2 separate regions of the Homo sapiens genome follow, and region 2 is linked to region 1. The links are contacts of gene promoters, found by promoter capture Hi-C in blood cells and fetal thymus (Javierre and others, 2016). All regions are on one chromosome and are shown on one strand. The core of a region is centred on a gene start or on the middle of the fragment in contact, and the rest is flanking DNA. Distances in the headings are between cores, read along the strand shown.

The links. Contacts are between HindIII fragments. The CHiCAGO score rates a contact against its expected background, and 5 or more counts as called.
Region 2: a contact is called between a fragment that was not itself captured here and the fragment with the promoter of UNC13A in region 1, in 10 of 17 cell types (naive CD8 T cells, activated CD4 T cells, M1 macrophages and 7 more). The highest score is 9.4, in naive CD8 T cells.

What each region holds. Positions count from the first base shown.
Region 1 is chr19:17,685,584-17,691,928 of GRCh38, reverse strand. It overlaps UNC13A (unc-13 homolog A), which reads left to right and starts at 3,575. Exons shown (of 44, transcript NM_001080421.3): 1 at 3,575-3,751. The coding sequence starts at 3,730. RefSeq lists a silencer at 4,057-4,239 and enhancers at 3,473-4,433, 4,434-5,395. The HindIII fragment of the contact is 13,980 bases long and covers 1-6,345 here.
Region 2 is chr19:17,910,899-17,917,243 of GRCh38, reverse strand. No RefSeq gene overlaps it. Among named protein-coding and RNA genes, the nearest start is that of CCDC124, 19 kb to the left of the region's middle. The HindIII fragment of the contact is 4,460 bases long and covers 1,390-5,849 here.

The sequences.
Region 1 (6,345 bases), core at 2,326-4,825:
CCAAAAGTCCATGACCTGGAGAACAGATGAATAGCCAATAGAAGATTCATACAAAGGAATACTATGCAGCAGTAAAAAATGCAAGCCTTACAGCCACATGCAGCGATATGGATGAATATCAGCAGAATCACATTGAGCAAACAAAACAGATTAGCAGTCCAGGTGCTGTGGCTCACACCTGTAATCCCAGCACTTTGGGAGGCTGAGGTGGGTGGATCACCTGAGGTCAGGAGTTTGAGACCAGCCTGGCCAACATGGTGAAACCCTGTCTCTACTAAAAATACAAAAATTATCACTGCAACCTCCATGGCCAGGCATAGTGGCTCATGCCTGTAATCCCAGCATTTTGGGAGGCCGAGATGGGCAGATCACCTGAGGTCAGGAGTTCGAGACCAGCCTGACCAACATGGAGAAACCCCGTCTCTACTAAAAATTACAAAAAAATTAGCTGGGCATGGTGGCACATGCCTGTAATCCCAGCTACTCAGGAGGCTGAGGCAGGAGAATTGCTTGAACCTGGGAGGCGGAGGTTGCGGTGAGCTGAGATCGTGCCATTGCACTCCAGCTTGGGCAACAAGAGCAAAACTCTGTCTCAAAAAAAAAAAAAAAAAAAAAAAAAAAAAAAAAGCCAGGCAAGGTGATGGGCGCCTGTAATCCCAGCTACTCGGGAGGCTGAGGTAGGAGAATCGCTTGAACCTGGGAGGCAGAGATTGCAGTGAGCGGAGATTGTGCCACTGCACTCCAGCCTGGGTGACAGAGTGCAGCTCTGTTTCAAAAAACAAACAAACAAACAGATTAGTAAAGAATGTGAACAAAGTCAAATGAGGTGGCTCATGCCTGTAATTTCAGCACTTTGGGAGTCCAAGGCAGGCAGATTGTTTGAACCCCAGAGTTCAAGACAAGCCTGGGCAACATAGTGAGACCCTCATCTCTAATTAGCCAGGCATGGAGGTGCATGCCTGTTGTTCCAGGTACTTGGGAGGCTGAGACAGGAGGATTGTCTGAGCTCAGGAGCTCACACCACTGTACTACAGCCTGGGTGACACAATGAGACCTTGTCTCAAAAAAATAGAAACATGCAAGAGGTAACCATGTATTGTTTGCTAAGGAGCATGTGGTAAACTATAAGGAAAAGGAAGAAAATGAAAAACAAAATTTGTGATAGTTCTTCCATCTGCAGGGAAGGATTATGAGATTGGGGAGAGGCACATGGGGGTCTTTTATTGTGATGGTATTTTTTTTTTTTTTTGAGACGGAGTCTCTCTCTGTCACCCAGGCTGGAGTACAGTGGCCCGATCTCGGCTCACTGCAAGCTCCGCCTCCCGGATTCACGCCTTTCTCCTGCCTCAGCCTCCTGAGTAGCTGGGAATACAGGCGCCCGCCACCACGCCCGGCTAATTTTTTGTATTTTTAGTAGAGACGGGTTTTACCGTGTTAGCCAGGATGGTCTCGATCTCCTGACCTTGTGATCACCCCGCCTCAGCCTCCCAAAGTGCTGGTATTATAGGCGTGAGCCACCGAGCCCGGTCGATGGTAATTTTTTTTATCCAAGCCTGCTCCTCATAGTTTATCTACTCATTGATGTTTAATAAAACATCAATGTTTTATTGATTATCAATGTTTAATAAAACATCTACTCATTGATGTTTAATAAAAATTTAAGACCAGGCATGGTGGCTCATGAGCCTGTAATCCCAACATTTTGGGAGGCTGAGACGGGAGGATCACTTGAGCCCAGGAGTTTGAGACAGCCTGTGCGACATGGTGAAACTCTGTCTCTACAAAAAATACAAAAATTAGCTGTGCTGATTTTTTTAAAAATTTAAAGCAGTGACAGATACAAACATGGTTACTATTAGGCATTAAGATTACAACTGGGGCCAGGCGCGGTGGCTCATTCGTGTAATCCCAGCATTTTGGGAGGCCACGGTGGGTGGATCACTTGAGGTCAGGAGTTTGAGACCAGCCTGGCCAACATGGTGAAACCCCATCTCTACAAAAAATACAAAAAAATTAGCTGGATGTGGTGGCGAGCGCCTGTAATCCCAGCTACTCAGGAGGCTGAGGCAGGAAGATCACTTGGAGGTTGAGGTTGCAGTGAACTGAGATGGTGCCACTGCACTCCAGCCTGGGCCACAGATTGAGACTACACCTCCAAAAAAAAAAAAATTACAACTGGTTTCACATGTTAACTCATGTAATACCTCCAGCAACCTTGTGAGGCAGGACTTGTTATCATATTCATTCTACAGGTGCGGAAACTGAGGCACGAGGAGGTCACAAGACCTGCCCAAGGCCATGCTTGTGATGAGAGACAGAGTTTGGTTTTGAACAATGGCCTCACTCAACTCCATGCACATTCTGCATTTATGAAGCTCTTTCATGTGGGCTGGGGGCAGGAGACCCTGTGGGGCTCAGCCTTTCATGCTAGTTTAGGTGCCAGTGATACAGCGAGCAGGTTGCAGGGCAAGGGGCCCACATGGAGCTGCCCAGTTTGATATGTGGGGAGGGGGCCAGGCGCAGTGGCTCAGGTCTGAATCCCAGCACTTTGGGAGGCCGAGATGGGCGGATCCCCTGAGGTCAAGTGTTCAAGACCAGGCTGGCCAACATGGTGAAACCTCGTCTCTACTAAAAATAAAAAAAATAAAATAAAAAAAAAAAGCTGGGCATGGTGGCATGCGCCTGTAGTCCCAGCTACTCGGGGAGGCTGAGGCAGGAGAATCTCTTGATCCCAGGAGGCAGAGGTTGCAGTGAGCCAAGATTGCGTCACTGCATTCCAGCCTGGGCTGCAGAGGGAGACTCCATCTAAAAAAAAGAAAAGTGGGGAGGAGTGGCAGAGTTTCGTTCGGGTCAGGGCCCAATCAGAGGAAGGGATAGGGGCTGGGGGAGTCCAGAGAGGAGAAACAAAGGCTCAGCTTGGGGCAGTCAGGGAAGCCTTCCTGGAGGAGAGGATATTCAGACAAGACATTGATGGATGAAAAGGAGTTCAGAGTGTGGGCAAGGACCCATGGGCTGGATGGCTTAGAGACATAGAGAGAGACCTAGACAGGATGCAGTAGAGCTGCAAAAAGACTTTACAGAGAGAGGCTAAGAGACACATGACTGAGAGAGCAGTGGACAGAGTCAGAGGAACAGAGACCCAGGGAGAGAAAGAGACCAGGCAGTAGAGTTAGAGAGACAGAGACGTAGAGACAGAGGAAGAGAGATACTCAGAGAACAGGACCATCTGCCCGGTGCTGGTGCCGGGCGTACACACAAGAGCTTGCATTTGCCTGTACTTGCTTGAGTATTGCAGGGAGGCGTTTGCCCAGGTTACCAGGGCAGGAATGTCCATGCATGGGTGGCGGGGGCACGTGCACCATTTCAGTGCAGGTGAGGGTCTGCACAGGAGGAAACCTGCTTGGGGGCCGCCGTCGCCCCTTGTCCCCCTGCAACGAGGAGGTGTGGGGCGAGGCGCCCCTTCCCGGAGCCAGGCCCTTTAACGCCCCCCCAGCCCGCAGCGCCCCCGCCCCATCAGGCGTCCCTGGGCTCCGCCTGCCCGCCCCGCATCAGCGCCACGTCAGGCGCTGTCCGCGCCCCCGGTGCTGAACCAAGATGGCCGGTGGCGGCCGGGCCCCGGCGTGAGCCAAGCGCGGGCTGCAGCCGGGAGATGCCCCAGCCCAGCGGCCGCTGAGCCCGACCCGACAGAGCCGGCCCGGCCGCCTCCGGCCCACCTGCGAGCTCGGAGACATGTCTCTGCTTTGCGTTGGAGGTAGGAGGCGAGGCTGGGGGTCGGGGGACCCGTGTGGACGCGGGCTGGGGTCGGGGTCCGCGTGGATGCGGCTCCCAGGGGGTTCCTGGGGGGTGACCCGAGTCCAGGTGGCTGGACTTTTGAGAGGGGTAGCCCTTGTCGACGCAGCTGGGCCCCGGAGGGGGTGATCCGTGTAGACGCGGCAGGGCTCTCGGGGGTCCTGGTGGCCGCTGCTGGAGGGGTCGTGTGGACGCGGCTGAACGCGGAGGCCCGTGTGGACGTGGACGGGTATCCGGGGTTCTACCCGGAAACGATCTAGACTGGGGCGTCTGTGTAGACCAGGTTTTTAGAGGGTCAGTGAGGAAGAGTCTGGGCTCGGTAGTTTGATTGAAGCCTGCAGGGGTGCTTGGAAGGGGTCTGGTGTTGTGGGCTGGGTTACGGGTCCTCATGGACGCGGACCCGGCTGGAAATTCGAAGGAGAGTGCGGTGGGAGGGTTCTCCAAGCCGTGGGGATGTAAGATATAGGTAGAGGGGCTTGGCCATCAGGGCATCCACGAGTTCTAGGACTCTCCCAGCCCTAGGTGTAAAGAGGACTGGAGTGGGGGGAGTGTGGAGACAGGAGACCCCTCCCAGCGTCCAGAGAGGGCTGTGACTGGAGGTCTGGGGGCGCTTTTCCAGTTAACTCTTTGGCCTCCCGAGTGAGGGGGTTGGAGGAATGTCCAGAAGGTCTTCCCGCTCCCTGCCCCCTCCGGTTCTCCCAAACACGTTTCAGGGCCTTCTCGGCAGGGAGCCTACTTCTTGGAAGAGCAATGTCTCCTGGTCCCCCTCCTGGCCCATCCTCACCTCACCCACTTTGCACTGGAGAGAGGGAGGGAGGGAGACGTGAGGTGGGGGGGGAGCTATTTTGGGGCCAGAACGCCATCTGCACAGAGGCCCACGCCCAGGCCCACGCTCTGCGTTGGGGTTGGAGGAGGGAGGGAGACGTGGGAGGGGCATGACCCCCCACCCCACACCTTTATGGCTCTGGGGTCGTGGGGAAGCCAGCCCAACCGAACCCAGGCGTTCTGGGCACTCCCGTTTGAGAAATCAAACTCTGGGAGACCTTGGGCGGCAGGGGTGGATGTGGACCGCCGTTCCACGCCTACAGAGCTCTGAACCCCTGGTTCTTAAGGACTGGGGTCCCCCCGTCACTCCCACCCATTTCAAGAAGGCTGGGGTGGGGGAAGGGGTGTGTCTGCCAAGCCTGAGACTGCAGGCTTCGGGAGACCTCGGGCGACAGGAAGCGTGCGTGTGCTGAACTCCTGCTGCCTGGACACAGGGTGGGCAGGCCGGGGAGCCGGGAACCGCCCCCGCCGCCCCTCCTCCTCCCTCCCCTCCCCCTCGGCCGATTCATTCACAAACCCTGCCCCGCCCGCCCGCTCCCCGCCGCGGCAGCTTCCGAGTGCAAATCCGGCCGGGCTGGGCCGGCGTGGACGCGGGTGTTCTTAAAGGGACAGGGGCCTACTTTCTCTAAGCTCGTTTCTGCTGGACGGGGCTGGGGGTGGTGGAAGAAGGGTCCCTAGAGTCAAAGGTCAACTCCTCCATCCCCTAGCCTCCAGGCCTATGGAGTTAGGGGAGTAGGGAAGTGAAGGAGACCCCTAGGCGACCCCCACCGCCTAGGCCTGAGGACGGAATGGGAGGAGAACTTGAATGTCCAGACCCCCTACTGACCTCTCCCCCTGCTCTAAGTAGCCGGGCTCTTAAAGGTGGCACTGGAGGAGGTTCCGACGTGGGTGTTCTTGGCTGACTCCTCTATCCTCTCTCTTCTCCCCCCAGCATCCCGCCCCACCCCGCCTCACATCCTCCAAGTTGGGCTTCTCTGGAAGGTTTGCCTAGTGGAGTGGGGGGGGGGGGGGGGGGGCGGGGATCTCACCCTTAACTCTGACGCAAACAGGAGGCTCGGCTGCGGGGGTGGCATTAAGGGGGGGCAGCAGGAGGCAAGAGGGATGAGGCTTCCAGAAACAGAGACGTTGGGGGAGGACTGTGCTGGATTCTGTGGACTTTACAGGGAGGGGCCCGGCTGAGTGGAGAGGAATCGCTGGGAGGGGCAAGGCTGGGGAAGAGGTTGACAGGGGTGGGAGGTAAGGCCCTCAGGTGTAAAGGGAGGTGTGAGGTTGGAGTGAGGAGGAGTAGGAGGCAGGGAGGGGTGGGGAGAGGGAGAAGTGCTGGGTGAGGCCAGTCTCCCAGGGAGAGGTGGGATGGTGCCCAGAGAGGGGAGGGGCTGGGATGGCTGAGCACGAGAGATGTTGGGGTGGGCTTGGCAGGAGTGAAGCTAGGCTGAGATGGGTTGCCGTGTTGCCTGAGCTCAGCTGAGGAAATACCTGTCCCCCCTCCCCTCCACCGGGGACCCACAGGCGTTTGCCAATCCCTACACACATTCATACCCAGACTTGTTCCTGTGTGGACACAAATGCTTAGGATGTATGAAGGCTCTACGCAGACCATGTGCCTGGGAAGGCACATTCCGTAGGCACACGTGTGTACTCAAATGCCTGTGTGAACACAAGCATACACGTGTATATAGGACACAGTCTGCCGCTACAGATATAGTCCCAGCAACACACGTGTGAGTGTGT
Region 2 (6,345 bases), core at 2,370-4,869, 230 kb before region 1:
CCTTCCAGGTTCAAGTGATTCTTGTGCCTCAGCCTCCTGAGTAGCTGGGATTACAGGTGCGTGCCACCACACCTGGCTAATTTTTGTGTTTTTTTTTTTTTTTTTTTTTTTGTAGAGATGGGGTTTTGCCTTGTTGGCCAGACTGGTCTCAAACTCCTGACGTCAAGTGATCTGCCTGCCTCTGCCTCCCAAAGTGCTGGGATTACAGGCGTGAGCCACTGCGCACGGCTGTTTCCTTCCTTTTTATGAGGAAACCTGGAGAGTCTTGAGTCTGTGACCCAACACTATGAGCCCTGTCCATGCTCTGACCCCAGGACTCCCCGCCTGGAGTCTCAGAGTTGGAGACAAACCTACAGGTCCAGCCTTCTGCAGCCTCTCCTCCTCTGCCCCAGCTGTGAGCTCTGACCTGGCCATGAGGCCCCCGCAGGCATCTTGTCTCAAATAAACAAATGTTTAGGCAAGGATTGAATTCAGCAAACAGCCTGTGCTTCCGTGCAGGATGGCTGGGCCAGGGTGGGCTGGGGCAGGAACCGGGCGTTAACGTGCAACCAAGCCCCTCAGAGACACAAAGCCTCTGTTTGCTTTCTGAACTTGACATTTCTCCCCAGTAAACTGCAATCTGTGGGCTCCCTGCAGCCTTTGTTCACCTTGGGTGTGTTTTCCCTTTGTTCTGATAGCTGCCAATCTGGTGCCTCTTTCCCTATATCAAACATGACCTTCCCCACCAGCAACTGAGGCTGGGGTCTTTACTCTGGCCACACCTCCAGCCAAGGGCACACTTTTTTGTTTTGTTTTGTTTTTAGGCAGCCTGTTGCCCAGGCTGGAGTGCAGTGGTGGGATCTCGGCTCACTGCAAGCTCCCATTCCCAGGTTCAAGCGATTCTCATGCCTCAGCCTCGGGAGTAGCTAGGATTACAGGTGTGCACTACCAAGCCCAGGTAATTTCTGTATTTTTAGTAGAGACGGGGTTTCTGCATGTTGGCCAGACTGGTCTCAAACTCCTGACCTCAGGTGATCCACCCACCTCAGCCTCCCAAAGTGCTGAGATTACAGGTGTGAGTCACTGTGCCTGGCTGGTATTGTGATTTATGGTAAGATAAATATTTGGTCTTTGTCCCAGTTCCTGACACAGAGCTCCTGAGAACTTTGTAATCTGATGTAGTCTGATGGGAACATCTGACGCAGAGTTCCAAATTTCCTTGGGATTTCCTGGGTGACAGGAGTGTCTTTTGTTCTAATGAGGTGACGCTTGGGAGGTTCCTGGGTTGGGGACCAAGAAGACCAAGCCATGATTACAAGCCTGGAGCTTTCAGCCTCACCCCCTTTCTCTGGAGAGGGAAGAGGGGCTGGAAATGGAGTTAATAATCGATCATGGCTTCATAATAAAGCTTCCATAAAAATCCCTCAACTACGGAGTTTGAAGAGCTTCCACATTGGTAAACACTTCCACATACCAGAAGGGTGGTGGACCCCACTCCATGGAGGCAGAAGCTCCTGTCTCCCTCCAGACCCTGCTCTAGGTATCTCCTCATCTGGCTGTTCACCTGAATCTTTTTTTATTATTATTATTATTTTGAGATGGAGTTTCGCTCTTGTTGCCCAGGCTGGAATACAGTGGTGCAATCTTGGCTCACTGCAACCTCCACCTCCCAGGTTCAAGCGACTCTCCTGCCTCAGCCTCCTGAGTAGCTGGGATTACAGGCATGTGCCACCACACCCGGCTAATTGTGTATTTTTGGTAGAGACGAGATTTCTCCATGTTGGTCAGGCTGGTCTTGAACTCCTGACTTCAGGTGATCCGCCCGCTTCAGGCTCCCAAAGTGCTGGGATTACAGGTGTGAGTATTATTGTTTTCTTTTTCTTTTTTTGAGATGGAGTTTCACTCTTTTTGCCCAGGGCGGAGTGCAATGGCGCAATCTTGGCTCACTGCAACCTCCACCTCTTGGGTTCAAGCAATTCTCCTGCCTCAGCCTCCCAGGTAGCTGGGATTACAGATGTGTGCCACCATGCCCGGCTAAGTTTTTTTTTAGTAGAGACGGGGTTTCACTATGTTGGCCAGGCTGGTCTCAAACTCCTGACCTCAGGTGATCACCTGCCTCAGCCTCCCAAAGTGCTGAGATTACAGGCATGAGCCACTGTGCCTAGCCACCTTTTTTTTTTTTTTTTTTTTTTTTTAGCAGGGTCTTGTTCTATCACCGAGGCTGGAGTGCTGGGGTGATCTTGGCTCACTGCAGTGTCCATCTCCCAGGCTCAAGCAATCCTCCCACCTCAGCCTCCTATGTAGCAGGGACCTCAGGTGTGTGCCTCCAACAGCTGGCTATTTTTTTGTATTTTTTTGTAGAGATAGGGTTTCACCATGTTGTGCTATCTGGTCTTGAATTCCTGAGCTTGACTGATTCTCCCACCTTGGCCTCCCAAAGTGCTGGGATTACAGGTGTGAACCACTGCACCTGGCCACCCCCACTTCTTTAAAAAAATAGTACTTAAAAAAATGTTTTTGAGATGACATTTTCACTCTTGTTGCCCAGGCTGGAGTGCAATGGTGCAATCTCGGCTCACTGCAACCTCCGCCTCCTGGGTTCAAGTGATTCTTCTGTCTCAGCCTCCTGAGTAGCTGGGATTACAGGCACATGCCACCACACCCAGCTAATTTTTGTATTTTTAGTAGAGACGGGTCTTGAACTCCTGACCTCAGGTGATCTGCCCACCTTGGCCTCCCAAAGTGCTGGGATTACAACCATGAGCCACTGCGGCCAGCCACCATTTTTTTTTAAGATGGGGTCTTGCTCTGTTGCCCAGCCTGGAGTGCAATGATGCGATCTTGGCTCACGGCAACCTCCACCTCCTGGGCTCAAGCGATTCTCCCATTTCAGCCTCCTAAGTAACTGGGACCACAGGTGCACACCACTATGCCCAGCTAATTTTTTGTATTTTTTGTAAAGATGGGGTTTCACCATGTTGCCCAGGCTGGTCTCAAACTCCTGAGCTCAAGTGATCTTCCCACCTTGGCCTCCCAAAGTGCTGGGATTACAGGAGGGGACTCTGTGCCCAGCCTAAGGGAGTCTTGATTTACAGCCAGTGCATTAGAAGTACAGGTGAAAACCTACTGTTTGCAGATGGCATCTGCAGTAGGGACCATCTTGTGGGACTGAGCCCTTAACCTATGGGATCTGATACTATCTTCAGGTAGATAGCTTCTGAACTGAATTGAATTTAAAAACACCCACCTAAAAAAATAAAAAGACAAAAAAATCAAACAAAAAACCCCACCCAGCTGGTGTCTGCTGGAGAATTACTTGACGTTTGGAAAAGTTCCCATACATCTGGTGTCAGAAATGTTGTGTTAAGGCTGGGCACAGTGGCTCATGCCTGTAATCCCAGCACTTTGGGAGTCTGAGGCTGGCAGATCACCTGAGGTCAGGAGTTCGAGACCAGCCTGGGCAACATGGTGAAACTCCATCTCTACTAAAAATACAAAAGTTAGCTGGGCATGGTGGTGCATACCTGTAGTCCCAGCTACACGGGAGGCCGAGGTAGGCGAATCGTTTGAACCCGGGAGGCAGAAGGTTGCAGTGAGCAGAGATCACGCCATTGCACTACAGCCTGGGTGACAGAATGAGACTCCGTCTCAAAAAAGAAAAAAGAAAAGAAAGGAATGTTGTGTTGAGTGATGTGTGAGCAGAAAAAAAAATTAATTTATGTTTTCTTTTTACTTTTGGTGTCAGAAGTGGGATTTGGACTTGGTGCAGATCTTAAGTGTAATAATACACTATCTCAATGATATTATGATATTGTTGGAAACTGAAGATCAGGCTAGGACTGAGTTGAATGCAGTGGGGACCCACATGACCAACCAAAGCTGGCTAATAGCTGTCCAAATGGTGAAATTCTTAGAATAGGCCAGGCGCCGGTGGTTCAAGCATGTAATCCCAGCACTTTGGGAGGCCGAGGTGGGTGGATCACCTGAGATGAGCAGTTCAAGACCAGCCTGGCCACCATGGTGAAATGCCGTCCCTACTAAAAATACAAAACTTAGCTGGGTACGGTGGCAGGTGCCTGTAATCCCAGCTACTTGGGAGGCTGAGGCAGGAGAATTGCTTGAACTGGGGAGGTGGAGGTTGCAATGAGCCAAGATCACATCACTGCACTCCAGCCTGGGCGACAGAGTAAGACCTTGTCTTAAAATAAAAAAAAAAGAAAAAAGAAATTCTTAGAATAATCTAGGCAGGAGCCACCCAGGATAGTCCACAACTGACTAAAAATAAATTGCTGGCCAGGTGTGGTGGCTCACACCTGTAATCCCAGCACTTTGGGAGGCCGAGGTGGGTGGATCACCTGAGCTCAGGAGTTTGAGATTAACCTGACCAACATGGAGAAATCCCATCTCTACTAAAAATACAAAATTAGCTGGGGGTAGTGGTGCATGCCTGTAATCCCAGTTACTCGAGAGGCTGAGGCAGGAGAATCGCTTGAACCCAGGGGGTGGAGGTTGCAGTGAGCCAAGATCACACCACTGTATTCTAGCCCGTGTGACAGAGCAAGACTCCACCTCAAAAAAAAAAAAAAAAAAAAGAAAGAAAGAAAGAAAAAAAGAAACAGCCGTCGTTACCTAACCCCAGGACCAAACAAGAAACGTCAGTGTTTCTGGAGTCTCCAACAGGACTCAGTCCCAACACCTCTGCTCCCCATGAATTCAGAGAATAGCACTGGGGCTGGAAGGGCCTTCAGTAGGTCCAAGGCCAGCATGCACAAGACCCACTGCCCAGAGAAGAGGGAGATTTGGGTCCTCCAGTGGTCCCCAAGCCAGTTTCTTTGACAGATTGAGGAGGTCCAAGCAAGCTGGTAGCCTCTGTGTCCCCCAGCCTCAGGCCTCAGTGTCTGGCACTCCAGCTTCACAGGCGTTTGCAGTGGGGCATCCTCAGGGAATAAAAAGTTTTGTGAAGACCTGGAGATCTTTTTTCAAAAGCACAATTACAGGTTTTCACACAGACTAGTCTTCATTCATACCTAAAACTCTCATTTCTGGTAGAAAATATGCACCAGTGAAAAACAGGGCATGGGGCTGGGTGTGGTGGCTCATGCCTATAATCCCAGCACTTTGGGAGGCTGAAGCAGGAGGATTGCTTCAGCCCAGGAGTTCAAGACCAGCCTGGGCAACTTAGTGAGTTGCTGTCTCTACAAAAGATAAAAAATTAGCTGGGCATGGTGGTGTGTGCCTATAGTCCCAGCTACTCGGGAGGCTGAGGTGGGAGGATTGATTGAGCCTGAGAGTTTGAGGCTGCAGTGAATCAACATCTCCCCACTGCACTCCACCCTGGGCAACACAGCAAGATTCTTTTTCTAAAGAAAAGTTTAAAAATAAAAATAAATAGTCTGGGCAGGGTGGCTCATGCCTGTAATCCCAGCACTTTGGGAGGTGGAAGTGGGCAGATCACTTGAGGCCAGGAGTTTGAGACCAGGGTGGCCAACATAACAAAACCTCATCTCTACTAAAAATACAAACATTAGCCAGGCCTGTGGCGCACACCTGTAGTCCCAGCTACTCGGTAGGCTGAGGCAGGAGAATCGCTTGAACCCAGGAGGCGGAGGCTGCAGTGAGCTGAGATCGCACCACTGCGCTCCAGCCTGACAACAGAACGAGACTCCGTCTCAAAATAATAATAAATAAATAAATAAATAAATATTTGGTCTTTTGACCCCAGTTCCTGACAGAGTGATGGGAGTGTCTGACATAGAGCTCCTAAATCCCCTAGAGTTTCCTGGGTGATAGGAGCGTCTTTGGTTCTAAAAAGATGACTCTTGGTGGGTTCCTGGGTGGGGACCAACAAGACCAAGCCATCATTAGAAGCTTGGAGCTTTCAGCCCCACCCTCTTTCTCTGGAGACCGGAGAGGGGCTAGGGACTGAGTTAATAATCAATCATGCCTTCATAATGAAGCCCCCATAAAAATCCCCAAAAGATGGGGTTTGAAGAGCTTCCGAGTTGATGAACACATCTGCAGGTTGCAAGGGTGGGGTATCCCACTCTATAGAGACCATTGTGTCTCAAGGCGGGCTGTTTTGTGGGATTGAGCCCTTAACCTGCGGGATCTGATGCTGTGTCCGAGTAGATAGCATCGGAACCAAATTGCATCAGAGGAATCCCAGCTGGTGTCCACTGGAGAATTGCTTACTATGTGGAAAAAATAAAGACAACCCACACATCTGGTGTCAGAAGTGTGGTGTTGAGTGGGATGTGTGTTTTGTTTGTTCCTCTTACATTGTGTTTTGAAATAAAACCAATACTCAGCCGCAAAGCAACCGCATTGGTCACCCTTCTGCAACGATTGTGTTAATGTTTTTCTTGA